Regions from separate parts of the Homo sapiens genome. Here all the other regions are linked to region 3. Evidence: promoter capture Hi-C in 16 types of primary human blood cells and fetal thymus (Javierre and others, 2016). All regions are on one chromosome and are shown on one strand. Each heading gives the region's core, a stretch centred on a gene start or on the middle of the fragment in contact. The rest is flanking DNA. Distances are from core to core; before and after follow the strand shown.

Region 1 (4,384 bases), core at 430-2,929, 780 kb after region 3:
TTCGCAGCAGCCTGGATGGAAATGGGGACTATTATTCTAAGTAAAGTAACTCAAGAATGAAAAACCAAACTTTGCATGTTCTCACTCATATGTGGGAGCTAAGCTATGAGGACACAAAGGCATAAGAATGATACATTGGACTTGGGGACTCAGGGGAAAGGGTGGGGGATGGTGAGGGATAACAGACTACACATTGGGTACAGTGTACACTGCTCGGGTGATGGGTACACCAAAATCTCAGAAATCACCACTAAAGAACTTATTCATGTAAACAAACACAACCTGTTCCCCAAAAGCGATTGAAATACAAAAATAAATAATAAACACTCGGAAAAAAAAAATAGCCTCAAGTAACTACTGGCTACAGTATTTGAAAGGCACACCTCTAAATCTTAATTTTTTTCCTTTCTAAAATGGGAGTAGGCATGTGCAGTGGCTCACATCTGCAATCCCAGCACTTTGTGAGGCCAAGGTGGAGCCCAAGAGTTCAAGAGCATCCTGATCATCATGGGGAGACTCTTGTCTCTACAAAAAGTAATAATAATAACAAAAAATAGCCAGGTGTGGTGTCACATGTCTGTGGTCCCAGCTATTTGGGAGGCTGAGGCAGGAGGATGGCTTGAGCCCAGGAGCTTGAGCTGCAGTGAGCCGTGTTCTCACCACTTGCACTCCAGTTGGGGCGACAGAGCAAGACCCTATCTCAAAAATACATACATACATACATACGTACATACATAAATATAAAATCAGAGTAATAGTTATAATCAAATTCTTGACCAAAGGATCAGATAATACATGTGAACTTTGAAAAACTAAAAAATACAAGTATTACTTTATGTAGATAACTATTTTATTATTGTTTTATACTCAAGAATTTCTATCATTTTGAATCAGAGGAAAATGGAATAAGCAGCCTGAGAAAACTGAGTTCCCCATATCTGGTAGAGTTTTGAGGCTGTCTGGCAATAAAGAACAAAAATATCCCGTAGAGTTAAGCTAAATCATCCCTCTATTACCTGCAGAGACCTTCCCTGGGAGGTCCTCTTTGACTCCCTGGACTGAATTAATGGTCCTCTAGGTATAACCATGACACTTTTCACACTGTATTGTAAAAAAAAGTGGTCTGTCTGCTCAACTTTACCCAAGAACAGGTGCCTCTGATCCCCGTGTCCTTCCGGTTGTCAACCGCTGGGTACATAGTATATCCTCAATCTGTATTTGTTGAATAATTCACTAGCACTGTATTCGTGAGGGTATGGTTCTCCGGATAACTTAAGTAACTACTAATCTGTGGTAAACAGAACAGCTCTTTAAGGACGATGCAGATGAATACTGGCTGCTGTAACGGCCCAGTTGGTGCATCTCGGATGCCAGGAGGCGGTCCAGTGCTGATCTCTTTCTTTTGCCCTTCCCTCCCGCCCTTCCAGTCTGTGGGATATAGAGGACCTCACAGTCACGAGGTCGCGACGGTCCGTGCCGTCGTGGAGACAAGCGGGACACGGAGAGAGAACTACATTTCCCAGCTGACTCTCCTGCGCGCGCCCTTGCCTGCGCGCGGGGGGCGAGTGCACCGGGCGCTCGCTCCCTGCCGAGCTCTTGTCGCCCGCCCGAGCCTTTGCCAGGGGATGAGGTGGGAGGCGCTAGAAACCACTTAGCTACAGCCAACCGCCCAATGCAGCACTCGCTCGCTCCCCCCGCCAGCGGAAGCGTCCGCGAAGCACAATGCAGCACTGAGCCGCGGTGGAGGTTGCAGCGCCACGGCCGCCGCAGCACCGGCCGGGGCTGGGTGGAGGTGGCCGCGGGGACCCCGGGGGCGCGGAGCGAGGGAAACGGACTCGGCGGCGCCGGCATGAGGAGCTGAGCGTCTCGGGCGAGGCGGGCTGACGGCAGCACCATGCAGGCGGCAGTGGCTGTGTCCGTGCCCTTCTTGCTGCTCTGTGTCCTGGGGACCTGCCCTCCGGCGCGCTGCGGCCAGGCAGGTAAGTTAGCCGTCCTCTGTGCCTTTGGGCCATACCATTTCCCGGGAATCTTTGGAGCCCTCAGGCGTATTGAAAAGGGGGCATCCCCATTTCCCGAGTGCGCGGGGAGATTTTTTTTTTTTTTTTTTTTAATTCGGGAGGGTGGTGAGAAGTGGAGCAAAAATATATGTGTGGAGGCGCGCAGATGCACTGGAAGCCTTCGGTCAAAGCCTGTTTTTCTCCTTCTGAAGAGGAATGGGGAGAATGGGAAAGGGGTGCCCTGCTTCTGGGCCCCGCTCCTGGTTGCTCTCGGATGAGCTGGTCCAAGGCTCTCGGGCTGGTGTCTCTGCGTCCTTCCCAGTTGGGTTCCGAGAGGGAGGGGGCGGTGGGGATTTTCGTAGGGGAGACGTAGGACTGCAGGATGGAGGAGTGAGGGTCAGGGTCATTATTTTCGCCTTTTCTCTCCACTCCCTCCTTTCCCGGTTCCTGCCTGGAGGAGACGCCTCATTGATGGAGCTAGAGAAGAGGAAGGAAAACCGCTTCGTGGAGCGCCAGAGCATCGTGCCACTGCGCCTCATCTACCGCTCGGGCGGCGAAGACGAAAGTCGGCACGACGCGCTCGACACGCGGGTGCGGGGCGACCTCGGTGGCCCGCAGGTGAGAGGCTCGGTCCGGGAGGTGGTCCTCCGCGCCTCCCGGCCCACCCGAGACCCCACGATTGCGCTCGGTTGCCCTGGAGATCCCATGTCTTCTTGGGTGAAATGAGTTGGGTCCCGATGCGAGTCATGCATGGCGCTCCCTGTGCAAAAAAGAAGGGGAAAAGGGTACAAAAAAGAACCAAAATAACCACAGGCCGAGGGCTTTGCCCGAGGGGAGTTTGTGCGGGGTGCCTTCAGCAGTGCGGTGAGCTGAGAGAACAGGCGGAGAGCCCTCTGACATCTGTCAAGCAAAAGCCAGGCATGCACAGCGAGAAGGGAGGTAGTATTTGGGCAGGGTTTGAATCATCATTGTTGTTGTTTTACTCCTCAAAGAGACTTCATAAGTGATTTAACCCAAGGTTGACACTGTAAGAAAAAATTGGAAAAAAACAAGGCTAGACGTTCTTAAGAAACCCAACTGTAAAAACAAGCTGAACTTTAAGGTTCTATTCGCACACATTTGTGGACACCAGAGATATGCCCATTCACCCCTACCTTCTAGAAAAGGTGTCCTCCTCCGACTTTCTTTATTGGTAGCAGTTCTCTTGGTTTAATTAGGGCTGTGCTGTTTGTTGAGCATTTATAAATTATGTTTTTAAAAATCTAGTTTTTATCACTGTATCTGTATTTAAATCAAGATCACACATTCACAGATATGCCTGAAAATTACTGTGAATTTATTGACAAATTTAAGTAAATACTTCTGGGGCTGTGTATTTTTTTATTTCTACACATCAGCTGATCAGGCAGTTCACCCACCTGTAAGTCCATATTAAGATAGGACTTGTTCATGTACTTGAAAATTTTTGTAAACTTTACTGAAGCAATGGCAAGCCAAACCTTTTCACATGTATAAATATATTCATCAGTGCTTTAAGATATATCTTGATGATGTGATAATTATACTAACTTATCTGTATGTGTGAAATATGTAAAAATAGAAAATATTACTTAAATCTGTATTTGTAGCCAAGTAGTTGGTACTGTTAACATTTTGTTAATAGAAGGTGGGAAATTAGCTTAAAGGGCTACATAATATCCATCAAAGATTATTTTAGTAGAAAATCCCAATATGTTAAGCTTTTAATGATGGATTCTTTTATGTGAATTAATGGTTGGTAAATGCCTATTTTCCTTTTCCATTTTGACTCGTTTCAATGGTAAAACTGAAGAAGCAGGGGCCATAGTTTCCCTATGTCATCGTATTTTTCAATTAATTAAGATTATTTCTGTGGAAGGATATTTTCACACCATTTGCAACCTTTTATTATAAAAAATTTCAAACACAAAAGAGTAGGATAAATTAATGAACCCCCAGCTCCAACAATTAGCAACTCATGGCCAATCTTGTTTTGTCTATACCCTACGTATTTCTTTTTCTATTTCCTTTCCCTCTCTATATTGTATTGAAGCAAATCATATCATTTCATTCATAAAAATTATAGGAATTTACCACTAAACAGTAAGGATTCTTTTAAAAATGCAACCATGTTACTGTATTTTCAAAAATTAGGAGTAATTTCTTACTACTATCAAATATCCTGTTTTTCAAATTTCCAGTTCTCGTAAATATGTATGTATATATGTATATGTATGTGTGTGAATGTTTATATGTGTGTGTATATATATTATATATATATATATAGAGAGAGAGAGTATATTTAGAGTATATATTTAAGTAAGTTTGTCTGGACCAGGACCCAGATAATGTCTGTAGATTGCAATTAG
Region 2 (4,799 bases), core at 2,084-4,583, 710 kb after region 3:
GCACGTGCCTGTAGTCCCAGCTACTCAGGAGGCTGAAGTGGGAAGATCACCTGAGCCCAGGAGGTCAAGGCTGCAGTGAGCTATGATCACACTACTACACTCCAGCCTGGGTGACAGAGTAAGACCCAGTCTCAAAAAAAAAAAAAAAAAAGGACACAAAAATAACTTCTTTTAAGTTATCTGAGGGAATGAAGAAGGAAGATAAAAGACGAAAACCCATTTAGAGAAGGGAACATGGACGCATATCTTCTCTATTTGACCAGAAGAAAAATCTGTGGTATGCAAGGGAAATTCAGACAAAACTAGAATTTTTTTTTAAATGTCATTCTCAATGTACATAATGCTATGCTTTGTCTCTTTTTCTGTATCTGTACTGTACTGCTCAGTCTAGCCATTTGTCACATTCCACCTAATGTAGTACAACTTTCTCTAATACCAACTTCTTCCCACTTACTGGACTAACTGTTGCCAAAATTGTCTTCTCTGCCCAACAGTATGTAAAAATACAAAGCTGTGAATTTTGTAATACTTAGGTCTGAGTGTTTCCTTCTGCTTTTATGGCTTTCTTTAATGTATAGGAAATTACCTTTTCAGCATCTTCCTACAATCAATCTATCCTTTCATTCATCTAAAATACCAGGGCTGTTCATTCCATCTCACCACTCTGAATTCAACACAGTGGCTTTATATCTGAGCCAATTTTCTCACAGTCCAAACACGTGTTTTCTGCCACTTAAAATATGGTTGCAATGCCATTATCTTTATAAACCTATAAAATCTAAGGAATTGCGAATTTTGCCTATCTTATAAAAATACATCATTATTTGTCTCAAATTCTACATAAACTACTATCCAGAAATTAACCAAGCTGTCTGATAAAATAATAAATTTCCAATCACTATATTCAAGCAATAGTTGTATGATGGTCATGAATGCTCTAACATGGGCACAACTTTTGGACACAGGAGTAAGCTGGATTCTAAGGTCCCTCACAAATATAATTCTGTTCTTACCTCTGAGGCACAAATACAAATACATAACCATCCTTTGCTTTAATTAGTAGGTCCATATAAATATTATGTATTTATTTGCTTTTTGCCTACACCTCATCACGTACAACTAAATGGTGAAAAAAAAAGTTTTTCATGAGGATAAAGAGGCATCAATTTTAATAAATTAGCAAATGAATGTTAGGCAAAAAAAAAAACCACAGGAACATTTAAAAATCAAACATAACATTTTTAGGGCAATTAGTACACATACCTTTGGGGAGTGGGTTGTTTTGGGCTTGGAGTCTAATTTTAACAACATCCAGGGGTGTCACTATGAAGATATGTTAAGTTTCAATTAGCGAGTGGTATCTGTAAATTGGATAGATGTTTTACACAGAACACAAAATACATTGATTCATACTTTTCCTCATGGCTATATAATTGGTAAGCTTATTTATCTTAAAGTAGTCTTGAATGTAACATTCTAATTTTTTTGCCCTTAAATTTTGTTAATCAGTGAAAGACAGACGAATTACTTCTCTCATGAGTACTAAACTGTTATTTGTAATATTCCTACAACTATCATTACATTAGCATTAAAGTCAGTATTTATAAGAAAATATGATTTCTAATATAAGAAGTAAAAGTTCCAAAAGACTTTGAGAATAACTTTCTATAAGTAATCAATAGCCAAATGATATTAGTCTTCCCAATCTGTTAAATTTACCTGTATCAAATAAGAGGTACAGATAATAAAAATTTGAGTAAACTAGTCATAAAACATCTTTAGCACTAAGTTATGTTATTCCATTTGGGCATAGCACAGCAAAGGAAAATAGTTTTAATATGCATGCTATATTTTATCCAAGTAGAAACAAATGCCAAATAATGTTTCTAAGAAAACTTTTCCTCATCTTGAGAATGATGATAATTATATTAGATGATCTCTATGACCTTTATAACTCAAATTCTGACCTGAAAATACATCATAAGCAATTAATTTATTTGTTCTAATCATTTGTTATTTACATAAACTAGCCAACTTAAAAATCATTAAAATGCTAAACTATCACCTAACTGTGTCATTTGGCTACATCTACAAGAAGCTGACTGTAAGAAACAGAAAACTGTGAACCAGAGAAATTTAAGAAATTCCGTTAATGCAAAGTAAAGATTATTTGTAATTGTTACGAACATAAATTGTGAAAATTCTGTATTATTCATTATGCTAATATTTTATTCCATCTTCTTGCTTTCTATTATAGACATGGGGAATCAGAAAAGTTTAATGTTGATAGGGACCCAAAAGAAATCCCAGTTATAAGCCCCTAATTTACAGATGAAATAATGAAGTTCAAATAAAAGTTAGATACTGTTCCCAAGTGTATTCACCGTGAGAATGGCAAAGCAAGGACTCAAGTCTCTTGAATCTCTGTCCAGGGTTGTTTTCATATAATAATATGATGAAACATTCATGGATCATAAATGATAGTATGTGTTGCAGGAAGTCAGGGATCCTGAATGGAGGGACCAGGTGGAGCCGCAGCAAAGGAACATAAATTCTGAAGATTTCATGGACATTTACCAGTTCCCAAATAATACTTTCATAATTTCTTACCCCTGTCTTACTTTAATCTCTTAATCCTGTTATTTTTATAAGCTAAGGATGTACATCACATCAGGGCCACTATGATAATTGTGATAACTGTACAAATTGATTGTAAAACATGTATGTTTGAACAATATGAAATAAGTGCACCTTGAAAAAGAACAGAATAACAGCGATTTTAGGGAACAAGGGAAGACAACCATAAGGTCTGACTGCCCGCAGGGTCGGGCAAAATAGAGCCATATTTTTCTTCTTGCAGATAGCCTATAAACGGACATGCAAGTAGGGAAGATATTGCTAAATTATTTTCCTAGCAAGGAATATTAATAATTCATACCCTGGGGAAGGAATGCATTCCTGGTGGGAGGTCTATACATGGCCACTCTGGGAGTGTCTGTCTTATGCCGTTGAGATAAAGACTGAAATACGCCCTGGTCTCCTGCAGTACCCTCAGGCTTACTAGGATTGGGCAACTCCACCCTGGTAAATTTGAGGTCAGACTGGATCTCTGCTCTCAAACCCTCTTTTCTGTTGTTTAAGATGTTTATCAAGACAAAACGTGCACTGCTGAACATAGACCCTTATCAGTAATTCTGCTTTTGCCCTTTGCCTTGTGATCTTTGCTGGACCCTTATCAGGAGTCTGTGATTTTGCCCTTGTCCTGTTTCCTCAGAAGCATGTGATTTTTGTTCTCCTTTTTACCCTTTGAAGCATGTGATCTTGTGACCTTACTCCCTGTTCTTACACCCCCTCCCCTTTTGAAATCCTTAATAAAACTTGCTAGTTTTGCAGCTCAGGTGGGCAATCACGGTCCTACCAATATGTGATGTCACCCCCGGAGGCCCAGCTGTAAAATTCCTCTCTTTGTACTCTTTATTTCTCAGCCAGCCAATACTTATGGAAAATAGAAAGAAACTACGTTGAAATACTGATACTAAAACTCAAATGGAAGCACTGACTCATTCAAAGTTACATAATCTACATCAGTAACATAATTTTACCTATTACTGATGTCAGTATAGCTCCAGTACATGAGGCAAGCATTTGTTGAAGAGGTGTCACTTTGATAATCTCTTGTCCCCTTGTCTCAGGATCCATATTTTTAACTAATTAAATAAAAACCTGTTAAAAAGAAAACATAAAATTAGAGCACATCCTCTGATCTTTCAAAAATGATAACATCCTTCAGCTAAGCTGGGTGAGCAGCATCACATTAGTAAGACAACTAAGAGAGAATTAACCAAACAGATACTGACAGAATGAAAGCAGGTGACCACTAAGTCTGAGTCTGTGAACTCAGCCTCATACACACTACTAAAAAAACCTCCCCAATAGAGTACAGAGGTATCAGCAAATACAGCCCTTTATTGTATACCAGTAGTTGTTGTACAGATGTAAAATAAAAACACATAACCTTAATAAGTTTTATCTTACAAAAATTTGATGAGAAAAGCAACATAAAAACATAAAAAGTTTTAAAAAGTCAGATAATACAGAACAGTATAAAAATAACTTATGAACTTACTATTCAAAAATAATCACCGGCCAGGCGTGGTGGCTCACACCTGTAACCCCAGCACTTTTGGAGGCCGAGGCGGGCGCATCATGAGGTCGGGAGATCGAGACCAACCTGGCTAACATGGTGAAATCCTGTCTCAACTAAAAATACAAAAAATTAGCCAGGTGTCTGTAGTCCCAGCTACTCGGGAGGCTGAGGCAGGAGAATGGCGTGAACCCAGGAGGCGGAGCTTGCAGTGAGCCGAGATCGCACCACTGCACTCCAGCCTGGGCAACAGAGCAAGACTCTGTCTCAAAAAAAAATAATAATAATAATCACCAGCAACAGGAATGTCATCTTTCCAAATGTCTATGAACATACACACATACATATGTATATGTCTATACACACACATTACATCTAACCAAATATTGTATATTAATCAAACACACGTACACTTATGTGTCCGTGTACATACAGCTTTTCTGAAAAACAGGTCAATACTATTTTGCTTGTTTAGTAGGCTGCTTTAACACTTAAAAACACATTATAGACATTGTGTCAATAAAAACAGATTTACATTTTTATTGCTTGCACGGTAGTTAATTATATTTATTTAATCAGTTTCAGATTGTTAGATATCAGGTTGTTGCCAATTTCCAAACTATAAAATATTCTGCTATAACATTCTTATACATAC
Region 3 (4,351 bases), core at 951-3,450:
TTTTTTCTGAATTAGCAAAAGATGATCATGAAACAACAGAACCTGCTTCTCAGTATTTGAAATACTTTATATTAATATATCAACCTGTCATAAAAGGCAATTTCATCATCAATCACTGATGAGGTTCACAAAAGTGTTATAGACACCTGGAGTCCAACAAAGTCAATTTTAACTAGCAAATGCAGTAAATACCATAGCTAAGCTATAAATACTTTAATAATTATTGTTTAGGATAGAAATACTTCTAATGATTTTTCTACAAAACATTTAATTCCTAAATAGGTAAATCCTTGGATAATATTTAAAACCTCATCCATTCCCTAGGTACACATTGACTAAATAATGAGGTACGGATAACATAGAAGTATAACTGCAGAAAATTGCTCTAGGAATCAAGTTGTGTTATGGATAGTCTTTACATTGATTATTCAAGCTAAAGGGATAGAGACGTTATTATATTTTTTTAAATTATGCATTAAGCTAATATTAAAATACATTTGTCATCCCCAAATAAATACCAATTGACTTGGGAAAAGGTAGTTATAAAAGAAACTCAACCAGAAAGGGAGAATTTAGTTATGAGGATGCACTTGACTTTTTGCGGGGAGTTAGCAGCGTGCAGGCTGACCTAAAATTTAGCAGAGGAGAATGGATAGCCCGACTATAATTTATATATCACTATTTTGTGCCTTAGCAAAAATAATCCTATATGGTTATGTCTTATGAAAAATATGGCTCATTAGGAACCACCTTATCAATGTTAATGTCAACAATTTTGCATATGTAATTATTATTTTATTAGAACTGCTCTTTGAGTAGTTGTATTGCTTTCCTGGCTTTAAGGTTTATTAGTTACCATTTTTAATGCTTAATACACGTCAGATTCCATGCAAACTACGCTGTCTACAATATTCTGGAAGGTACATCTTATTACTCCTAAAGTAAACAAAGCTAAAAGAGGTGAAGTGCCATATCCACTACTAAGAAATGGAGCCAAGATTCACACTCAGGTCTGACTGCCTGAGTCCATACCACGATACTATTCTGCCTCATAGTTTTGCTTACATAAACATTATTATGTACTTATTAAAAAATGGAATGATACACGGCTTAACTCCAACAGAATGCAGAGTGCCACAAATTAGTAATAAAGTTATCAACACAAGAAAATGCTGCTTCTGAGATTTATTTTTGAAAATTAGTCAAACATGTCGATCCTCCAGTAAAGCAAAGCATTTGTAAACTGGTTGTAATCATTTGTTTTCGTTATGAAAGTACTGCCAAAGTGTATTTTGTGAACTGCAACCGGGTAGTTCAGAACACAGGCTTTGGAGCTGAGGCTTCAATTCTAATTCCACCGCCAACTTGGGAGCCCTTGGACACATTCCTTCACTTCTCTTTGGTTCCTGTGTAAAATGGGATTCATTTGTAATAATTGTAGCGATGCACTTAGAACTTATGAACATTAAATGAGTTTAATATACGTAAAACATTTACCTGTCACATACGCACTCAAAGAATGCTGGCTCACATTACAGAACCCAAAGGCTTATTTATCCTTTTCGTTTATAAGGGTATTAAAACGCGTTTTCTATTTAGGATGGGTTTATACGGCTGCAACCCAAGGAGCATCTGTACTTTTAAGAGGAACTGGGCACAGCAAAACAGCATCTTCCTAGTCTAACAGTGAGACTACATTCACAGAGGACACATTTCATCAAGAACGACTTAACACGCCCAGATATCTCATATTATGCCCCTGCGGTAAGGCAAATCAAGTATGAAGACACACACTCCCTGTTTTCTTCAGCACTGAGATCACTGGTTCCCTCCGTTCCACACCGCGGCTCCCTCGGCTCGGAGCCACAGGGAACTATGAAAATCGGCACGCGAGGCCTAAGTGTCCCCAGAACCAGAGGAACCACAGTTGCGTCATAGCAGAAGGACCTCTTTTACAGCATCAGCAGTGGGATAGTCAGTGCCGAGTTTTCCTGGCAGGACAGCCGACAACCACCGCCACAGACCAGTACAAACATTCCAACCCAGGACCTTTTTTCGCGCGCCGACACAGCCGGAAGTGACGCGTACAGCCAGCACGCTGGGCCGCCAGCGGGACAGACGAGCGGGAGGGGCAGCGTGCGGGGAGCTGGGGGCGGGGCGCGGCCGCAGCTCCGTTTCCGGTGGCTCGTCGCGCTCGCTCACTCCAGCTGCAGCCACTCTCGCCCGTGGCTGCTTCCTCCATCCTGGTATTTTTTGGAGCTTCCATCCTGGTTCTTCCAAAGTGCCCGGACCCAAAACAGGAAGTAAGTGCGATGGAACCTTCAGGTTCCAACCGCCGCCAGGGCCGCTCCGCCCAGTGGAGCCTGTCCGGCCCCCTTGCTGCCCGCTAGCTCCCGCCGGCTGGCGCAAGCTGTCGGCGCCGGGGCACTGCGGGCGGGGTCGGAGCCTGGCCTTCCTGACGTTGCAGCTGCCGTCCCCGCACGTTCCGGCCAGGGCCTCCCTCTTAGGGCCGGGCGGTGCCCGTGGCTCAGGCTGCAGAGTAGGGAAGCGAGCGGCTGCCGAGGCACAGCGGCGATCCGGCGGGGGCGGAAAATGGCGGCGGCTTCGGAGGAGCTAAATGGCGCCGGGACCCCTGGGGGGTGGGGTGGGCCGGGAGGTTGAGTAGAGAACTGGGCCAGAAGGAGTGGAGACAGTAAGGAAGCCCTACTTGTTTTCTCGTGGTGTTCTATTTTTAGTTTTTATTTTTGTTACGTTTTCGGTTTTGTTTTATGGTCCAGCGTAGGAGAGGTAGGCTTGGGTGGGGTCGAGAGAGTGGGGGTGGGTCTCGACCCAACTTCCCCCCCTTTGCTTTTTTGTTCTTTTCCCTCGTTTGCGCTTTAGATTCTTCTGTAATTTTGCGGGGGTTCAGCCTTGCTCGGCGATTCACGGCCCAGACATAGAGAATCGGGATAGCTGGCCGAACCGTCTCTCTCAGTCTGACTCTCTTTAAAGAAGGGATGTGGGCTGGGGCGCGGGGACAGTCCTGGTGGAGCACGGAAAATGCGGCTGTAAAGTTGTAATTACCCTATTGTGCCGAGTTCCGAGAAAGTTCTTAAAATTGTTAAGTCCACTTTGTTCTCTAAAATGTACTTCGCTTTGAGAATTTCTTCAGGGAGGTATGTAGAATGTTTTACCACAATCTCCAGAGCAGATTTGAGAGTAGAAGTGGCCAAGTGCCCTTTTGTGCAATTGAATGATAGAGCATATGTCTTTATATAAAATACTCGGTGTAGATAAGGAAAAGGATAATAGTATACAGTATGAGTCAGGACTCCTCCCTTTCTCTCATTGAATTTGTGTAGTTGCTTTTTTCGCAACTCATTCATCTTTGTGTACCTCTTTTTAATGTACATGGATTTGATTATGTGTGCCTCCTTTCTGACAGTCGAGGCTGCATGTTGGGACGTCCTACAAAATGCATATTCTGTGGAATTATTTTTTAATATGACATGTCTTAAGCTTAAAGTGACGCCATTTGGAAAATTTTAAATTATACCTGTATTTTTAATTCGTGGGAGAAAACCATTTGTAGCTTTTAAGCTCCAAATACGAAAATATTCTTCCACTATGTTGAAAGTATTGCAAAATCTGTTTTTTTCAGTTAAGGGTTTTCATGTTTTTTCATTACTTCAAATTTCTTTAAGCTGGTTTTGAAATTATATTTCAAATAGCTTTCTGAGGATTACTGTCTTTTAATAACTTGAATAATTTGCCATCACTTTAACATTTAAAGAATGACTATGGCGATACACCAAAATCTTATCTTTTTGCTCTTATGGTGTACTTAGAGACAGGATTTCATGTATTTGGTTAGGATTTAGAAATTCTGTTAAGATTTAGAGAAAAAAGGTTAAAGCTACATTCCTTAACGTTACAAAAATTGTCATGCTGAGAGAATCCAATTTGGTGTGAGAATAATTTTTTTCTTCCATACAGAAAGCACAAAAACCAGCCTGATTGTATCTGGAAAAAACCATTATGTTACAGGTGTGAAAAATACATTTCATGATTGTGGTGATTTTTATCTCATTTTAACTCTCGATACTAGGTGCTTCTGTATGCCACCAAACAAGCTAATTTTTTTTCTTACTATTTTAGTTGATAGGCTCACCCCAAAATATGCTTTTGGGGACTGATTTAGCACCTGCATATTCTGCGTGAATCTCTTTAATTGGTTGCAGTTGAGCTAATGGTGGAGCCAAAATGCTATTGCCCTGTCTTCATCAACATTTAATCAGTAAGTACTGGGCATTGCATCTTTCTTAGAACTTTAAGTTCATACGTTGCAGTTATATGAATACATTATTTTATG
Region 4 (4,732 bases), core at 649-3,148, 740 kb after region 3:
ATTTTATCAATAGACTTTATTTTTTTAGAGAAGTTTTTGGTTCCCAGTAAAATCGAATGAAAGGTACAGAGATGTTTTACATACTCCTTGTCCTAACATCCCACACCAGAGTGGTACATTTGTTATAATCGATGAACTTAACATTGACACATCATTATCATCCAAAGTTCATAGTTCACATTTTGGCTCACTCTTAGTGTTGTACATTCTATGAGTTTTGACAAGTATGATTATGACGTGTGTCCATCATTATAGTATCATACAGAATGGTTCCACTGCCCTAAAAATCTTCCGTGTTTATCCCCCCATTCCCTTAAACCCCAGATAACTCCTGATGCTTTTACATTCACCATGGTTTTGCCTTTTCCACAGTGTCATATAGTTGGAATCATACAGTGTGTTTCCTTTTTTGATTGGCTTCTTTCACTTGGTAATGCTTATTTAAGGTTCCTCCATGTCTTTTCATGGCTTGACAGCTCTTTTTAAAATCTGAGTAATATTTCATTTTCTATATGCAGCACAGTTTATCCATTTACCTACTAAAGGACATCTTGGTTGCTTCCAAGTTCTGGCAGTTATGCATAAAGCTAATGTAAATATCCACGTGCAGGGTTTTTTTGTGGACATATTGTCAACTCATTTGGGTAAATAACCAAAGAGTATGATTGCTGCTTCACATAGTAAGACTAGGTTTAGTTTTGTTATAATATGCCAAACTGTCTTCCAAAGTAGTTGTGCCATTTTGTATTCCCACCAGCAATGAATGAGAGTTCCTGTTGCTGATAGGTTGGATTTTCATCTTTATTCAATTAAAAATATTTTTAAATTTCTCTTGTGACTTACTCATTGTCCTGTGGGGTTACTTTTATCATTTGTTTCCAAATAGGAATTTTTCAGCTATCTTTCTGTTTACTGATTTCTATTTTAATTCTGTTATGGCCATATAACGTGCTTTTTATTATTTTAGTTTTAAAAAATTTATCAGAGTTACCCAAAATATAGTCTATCTTGGTAACATTCCATGTGCAGTTGAAGAAAATGTATATTCTGCTGTGGTTGGGTACAGTATTGTTTACAAGTCAGTTAGATCAACTTGAGTGATAGCGTTGCTCATGTTTTCTGTATCCAGGATATAGAAATGTTGCTCAGGCCTTGTTCTGTCCACTACTGAGAGAGAGGGATATTGAAATTACCAAGTAAAATTGTGGATTTGTCTAGTTTTCCTTTTAGTTCTAGTACAGTTTTGAGTCATTTTGAAGCCTGTTGTTGGATATGTACACATTTAATATTCTTTTTTTTTTTTTTTTTTTTGAGACGGAGTCTCGCTCTGTCGCCCAGGCCGGACTGTGGACTGCAGTGGCGCAATCTCGGCTCACTGCAAGCTCCGCTTCCCGGGTTCACGCCATTCTCCTGCCTCAGCCTCCCGAGTAGCTGGGACTACAGGCGCCCGCCACCGCGCCCGGCTAATTTTTTGTATTTTTAGTAGAGACGGGGTTTCACCTTGTTAGCCAGAATGGTCTCGATCTCCTGACCTCATGATCCACCCGCCTCGGCCTCCCAAAGTGCTGGGATTACAGGCGTGAGCCACCGCGCCCGGCCTTCTTATGTCTTCCTGGTGAATTGACCCTTCTAGCCTCTGTAATGCTCTCTCTTCTGTCCCTGTTAATTCTTATTCTGAAGTCTGCTCTCTGATGTAGACCATTCTGGCTTTATTTTTATTAGTATTTACATAGTACTTTTTGCAGTCTTTTGCATTTAACATATCTATATATTTAAAATGGACTTCTTGCAGATATTGTCTTTTTCATCAAATTTGGCAATCTGTCTTTTAATTGGTAGTTTAAGTGATTTATACTTAATGTAACTATTGATCTTGTATTTAGGTCTACCATCTTACTGTTAGTTTTCTGCTGATGCCCTCTGTATTTTATTTCTGTTTCCCCCTTTCCTGCCTTCTTTCAGATTGATCTGCCAGCTTTTTAACTCTCTTCATTTTTGTTGTTTTATTTTAGTGGTTGCTATAGGATTTACGATATACATGTGTGACCTTTCGCAATCTATCTTGAATTAATATTTACCTTCTTCAAATAAAATGTAGAAGCCTTAAAATATTCAAGCCCTTTTACCTTCCCCACCAACCTTTATGCCATAATGTTTAGTACATCTTCTTATAATGAAAATGTCACCAGACAATGTTAAACTTTTTGCTTGAAAAAGTCATATTTTAGGGCTGGGCCTGGTGGCTCACACCTGTCATCCCAGCACTTTGGGAGGCCAAGGTGGGTGGATCACTTTAGCTCAGAAGTTCGAGACCAGCCTGGGCAACATGGTGAAACCCCATCTCTACAAAAAATATATATATAAATTAGCCAGGCCTGGTGGCATGCGCCTGTAGTCCCACCTGCTTAGGAGGCTGAGGTGGCATGATGGCCTTAGCCCAAGAGGCGGAGGTTGCAGAGAGGCAAGATCATGCCACTGCTTGCGACAGGGCAAGACCCTGTCTCGGGGAAAAAAAAGAAAAAAAAAGTTGGGTTTTAAAGAAAGCGACAGGAGGAAAATAGTCCTATTAACCCAGATGTTAACCTTTCCATTACTCTTCCTTCCTGAAATTACAGGTTTTCTTCGGATATATCCCTTTAGCCTGAAGGACTTACTTTAGCATGTTTTAGAGCAAATCTGGTGGCACAAGGAATTCTCTGAGATATCCTTCATGTGATCATATCTTTACTGGAAAAAGAATCATGAATTGAGAGTTCTTTGTCTCAGCACCTTACTCTTGTCCTAAAACTGTCTTCTGGTCTCCATGGATTCTGACGAGAAATCTGCAGTTACTCAAATTGGTATTCATTTATATCTACTGTATCATTTTTCTCTGGCTGCTTTTAAGATTTTTTTCTTTATCTTTGGTTTCAGAAGTTCGATTGTGCCTACACTTGGTTCACTGAGCTTATTGATTTGTGTAAATTTATGTTTGGAAAGTTTTCAGCTATTATTTTGTTAATTTTTTTTCTTCACTAGTCTCTCCCCTCTTTTTCCACCATTCCAGTTGACAATAAAGTTAGACATCTTGATGTTATTCCACAGATCCCTGTGGCTCTTTTCCTTTTTTCCTTAGTCTTTTTTGTTTCCTCTTTTCTTCCAATTGGAGATTTCTATTCATTTGTCTTGAAGTTCACTAATACTTAATTGTGTCATACATGTTCTGCTATTGAGCTTATCCAGTGAATTTTGTTATCTCACTCAGATAGTATATTTTTCAGTCCTATTATTTTTGTTTGGTTCTTATTTGTAGTTTTTCTGCTGAGAATTTGTCTCTTTCCATTCATCTTAAGTGTGTTTACCTTTACTTTTAAAGTCTTTTTCTAATAATTACAATATCAGGAACATGTTGGGGTTGGCATCTGATTGTCCTTTTCTCTCAAAAATTGATAATGTTTTTCTGGTTGTTTACATGTGAAATTTAAGTTTTGACTGTATACTGGACATTCTAAATGTTGTGTAGGCCCTATATCCTGATAGTCTGTAGGATGCTGATTTTGTTTCTGCCATTGTTTTAGCGGACAGTCATCCCAGTTTTGTTCAGACTGTTCTGTCTTGGTGGTTGTGGGTGGGGTGGATCTAATCTCAGTTTCAATTTTCAAAGCCCTTGCTATGCTGCGTTGGGTCTATCCTTAGCATGTGCAACTTGGAGGTAAGCCCTGCACTTGCATGGATTTATATAGGGAATTAGGGATCCCTTTCTCTAACTTGCTCTTTTCATGGATCAATCTCCAGCTTGCAGTGGCCTCTTTCCCAGGTCTTCTAGTCAGAAAGTGAGGGTTTCTCAATGTTAGCTTAAGCTTGTACTACCTTTACAATCTCAGCCTCCTAATTGGGACCCACCCTCAGGGCAGAACTGTGGGAGAAAAGAAAATAATACAGGGATTCTCTTGGTATTTTTGGCCACTTGAACCTCATTCCTGGTTCTTCCTGCCAGAAAGATAGGAGTTTTAGCTGCTGGCTCTGCCACTGCTGCTAACTCCATGACTGAAGGTTCCAGTTTTGACTTCCTTCCACAATCTGCCTGCTTATTTTACTTTTCATTCTTCAGGTAGTTGCTTATTCAGTGTTGTCCAGAGTTTCTAGTTGTAATCAGTGGAGTTGATTATCCATCTTTAACATATTGAATCTTTGCCTAAATTGACTGACTAATAAATGTTGACTAATTTCTTTATTCAATTTAATACAAAGATTTTGCTGAATAAGGGCATAAAAATAATATGACTTTTAAAAAAACATTTCATTAACTACCTTTTCATTATTGGTTTTCTTTTTATGAAGTCAAAATCAATTATAGCTAGAATGCAAGGTACTTGCTGAGTGTATTGTAAAACATTTAAAAACAATAGTTTTTTTTAACAAAGAATAATCCTTCTTTGATATAGCACTTTTCTGCATGATTTTTTTATCTTGAAGATACTGAGCAATTGCAGTTGCTGTTTTAACTGTACTTTCAAAGCCAATCTTTTCACTATATATTTTTTTTTAGGGCAAAAGAGTTGGTAGTGGTGCACAAAAAACAAGAAGTAAGTATTTTGTGATCTTTAAGTGTATTTGGTTTGCATTTGAAAAATCATAAAAGATCTTCTAAAATCATATAAACCACCCTCTAAATGATTTATTCAAGGCTTTCTTCGTCTTTATAGAACATAGATCCTTGGTGAAGTTTGGTGAAGCCTGTGGACCGCATTTT

What was found. The method cuts DNA at HindIII sites, captures the fragments that hold promoters and counts their contacts. A CHiCAGO score of 5 or more calls a contact.
Region 1: a contact is called between the fragment with the promoter of ADAM22 here and the fragment with the promoter of DMTF1 in region 3, in 5 of 17 cell types (fetal thymus, total CD8 T cells, non-activated CD4 T cells and 2 more). The highest score is 7.3, in fetal thymus.
Region 2: a fragment that was not itself captured here is called in contact with the fragment with the promoter of DMTF1 in region 3 in 2 of 17 cell types (total CD4 T cells and monocytes); the score reaches 5.5 in total CD4 T cells.
Region 4: a contact is called between a fragment that was not itself captured here and the fragment with the promoter of DMTF1 in region 3, in 4 of 17 cell types (fetal thymus, total CD4 T cells, monocytes and 1 more). The highest score is 7.4, in fetal thymus.

The regions. Positions count from the first base shown.
Region 1 is chr7:87,932,572-87,936,955 of GRCh38, forward strand. ADAM22 (ADAM metallopeptidase domain 22) reads left to right here and starts at 1,680. Exons shown (of 32, transcript NM_001324418.2): 1 at 1,680-1,979; 2 at 2,455-2,615. The coding sequence starts at 1,895. RefSeq lists a silencer at 1,583-1,992 and enhancers at 2,099-2,676, 2,677-3,254, 2,803-2,852, 2,863-2,942. The HindIII fragment of the contact is 4,406 bases long and covers 1-3,734 here.
Region 2 is chr7:87,855,029-87,859,827 of GRCh38, forward strand. It overlaps SLC25A40 (solute carrier family 25 member 40), which reads right to left. Exons shown (of 12, transcript NM_018843.4): 3 at 3,603-3,723; 4 at 1,264-1,323. The coding sequence starts at 3,699. Among named protein-coding and RNA genes, the nearest start is that of SLC25A40, 19 kb to the right of the region's middle. The HindIII fragment of the contact is 3,788 bases long and covers 1,440-4,799 here.
Region 3 is chr7:87,150,253-87,154,603 of GRCh38, forward strand. DMTF1 (cyclin D binding myb like transcription factor 1) reads left to right here and starts at 2,201. Exons shown (of 18, transcript NM_001142327.2): 1 at 2,201-2,303. DMTF1-AS1 (DMTF1 antisense RNA 1) reads right to left here and starts at 2,241. Exons shown (of 2, transcript NR_136253.1): 1 at 2,050-2,241; 2 at 1,171-1,406. RefSeq lists enhancers at 1,271-1,834, 1,750-1,989, 1,835-2,396. The HindIII fragment of the contact is 3,514 bases long and covers 1-3,496 here.
Region 4 is chr7:87,891,946-87,896,677 of GRCh38, forward strand. DBF4 (DBF4-CDC7 kinase regulatory subunit) reads left to right here. Exons shown (of 12, transcript NM_006716.4): 7 at 4,529-4,565. Among named protein-coding and RNA genes, the nearest start is that of DBF4, 18 kb to the left of the region's middle. The HindIII fragment of the contact is 3,877 bases long and covers 1-3,837 here.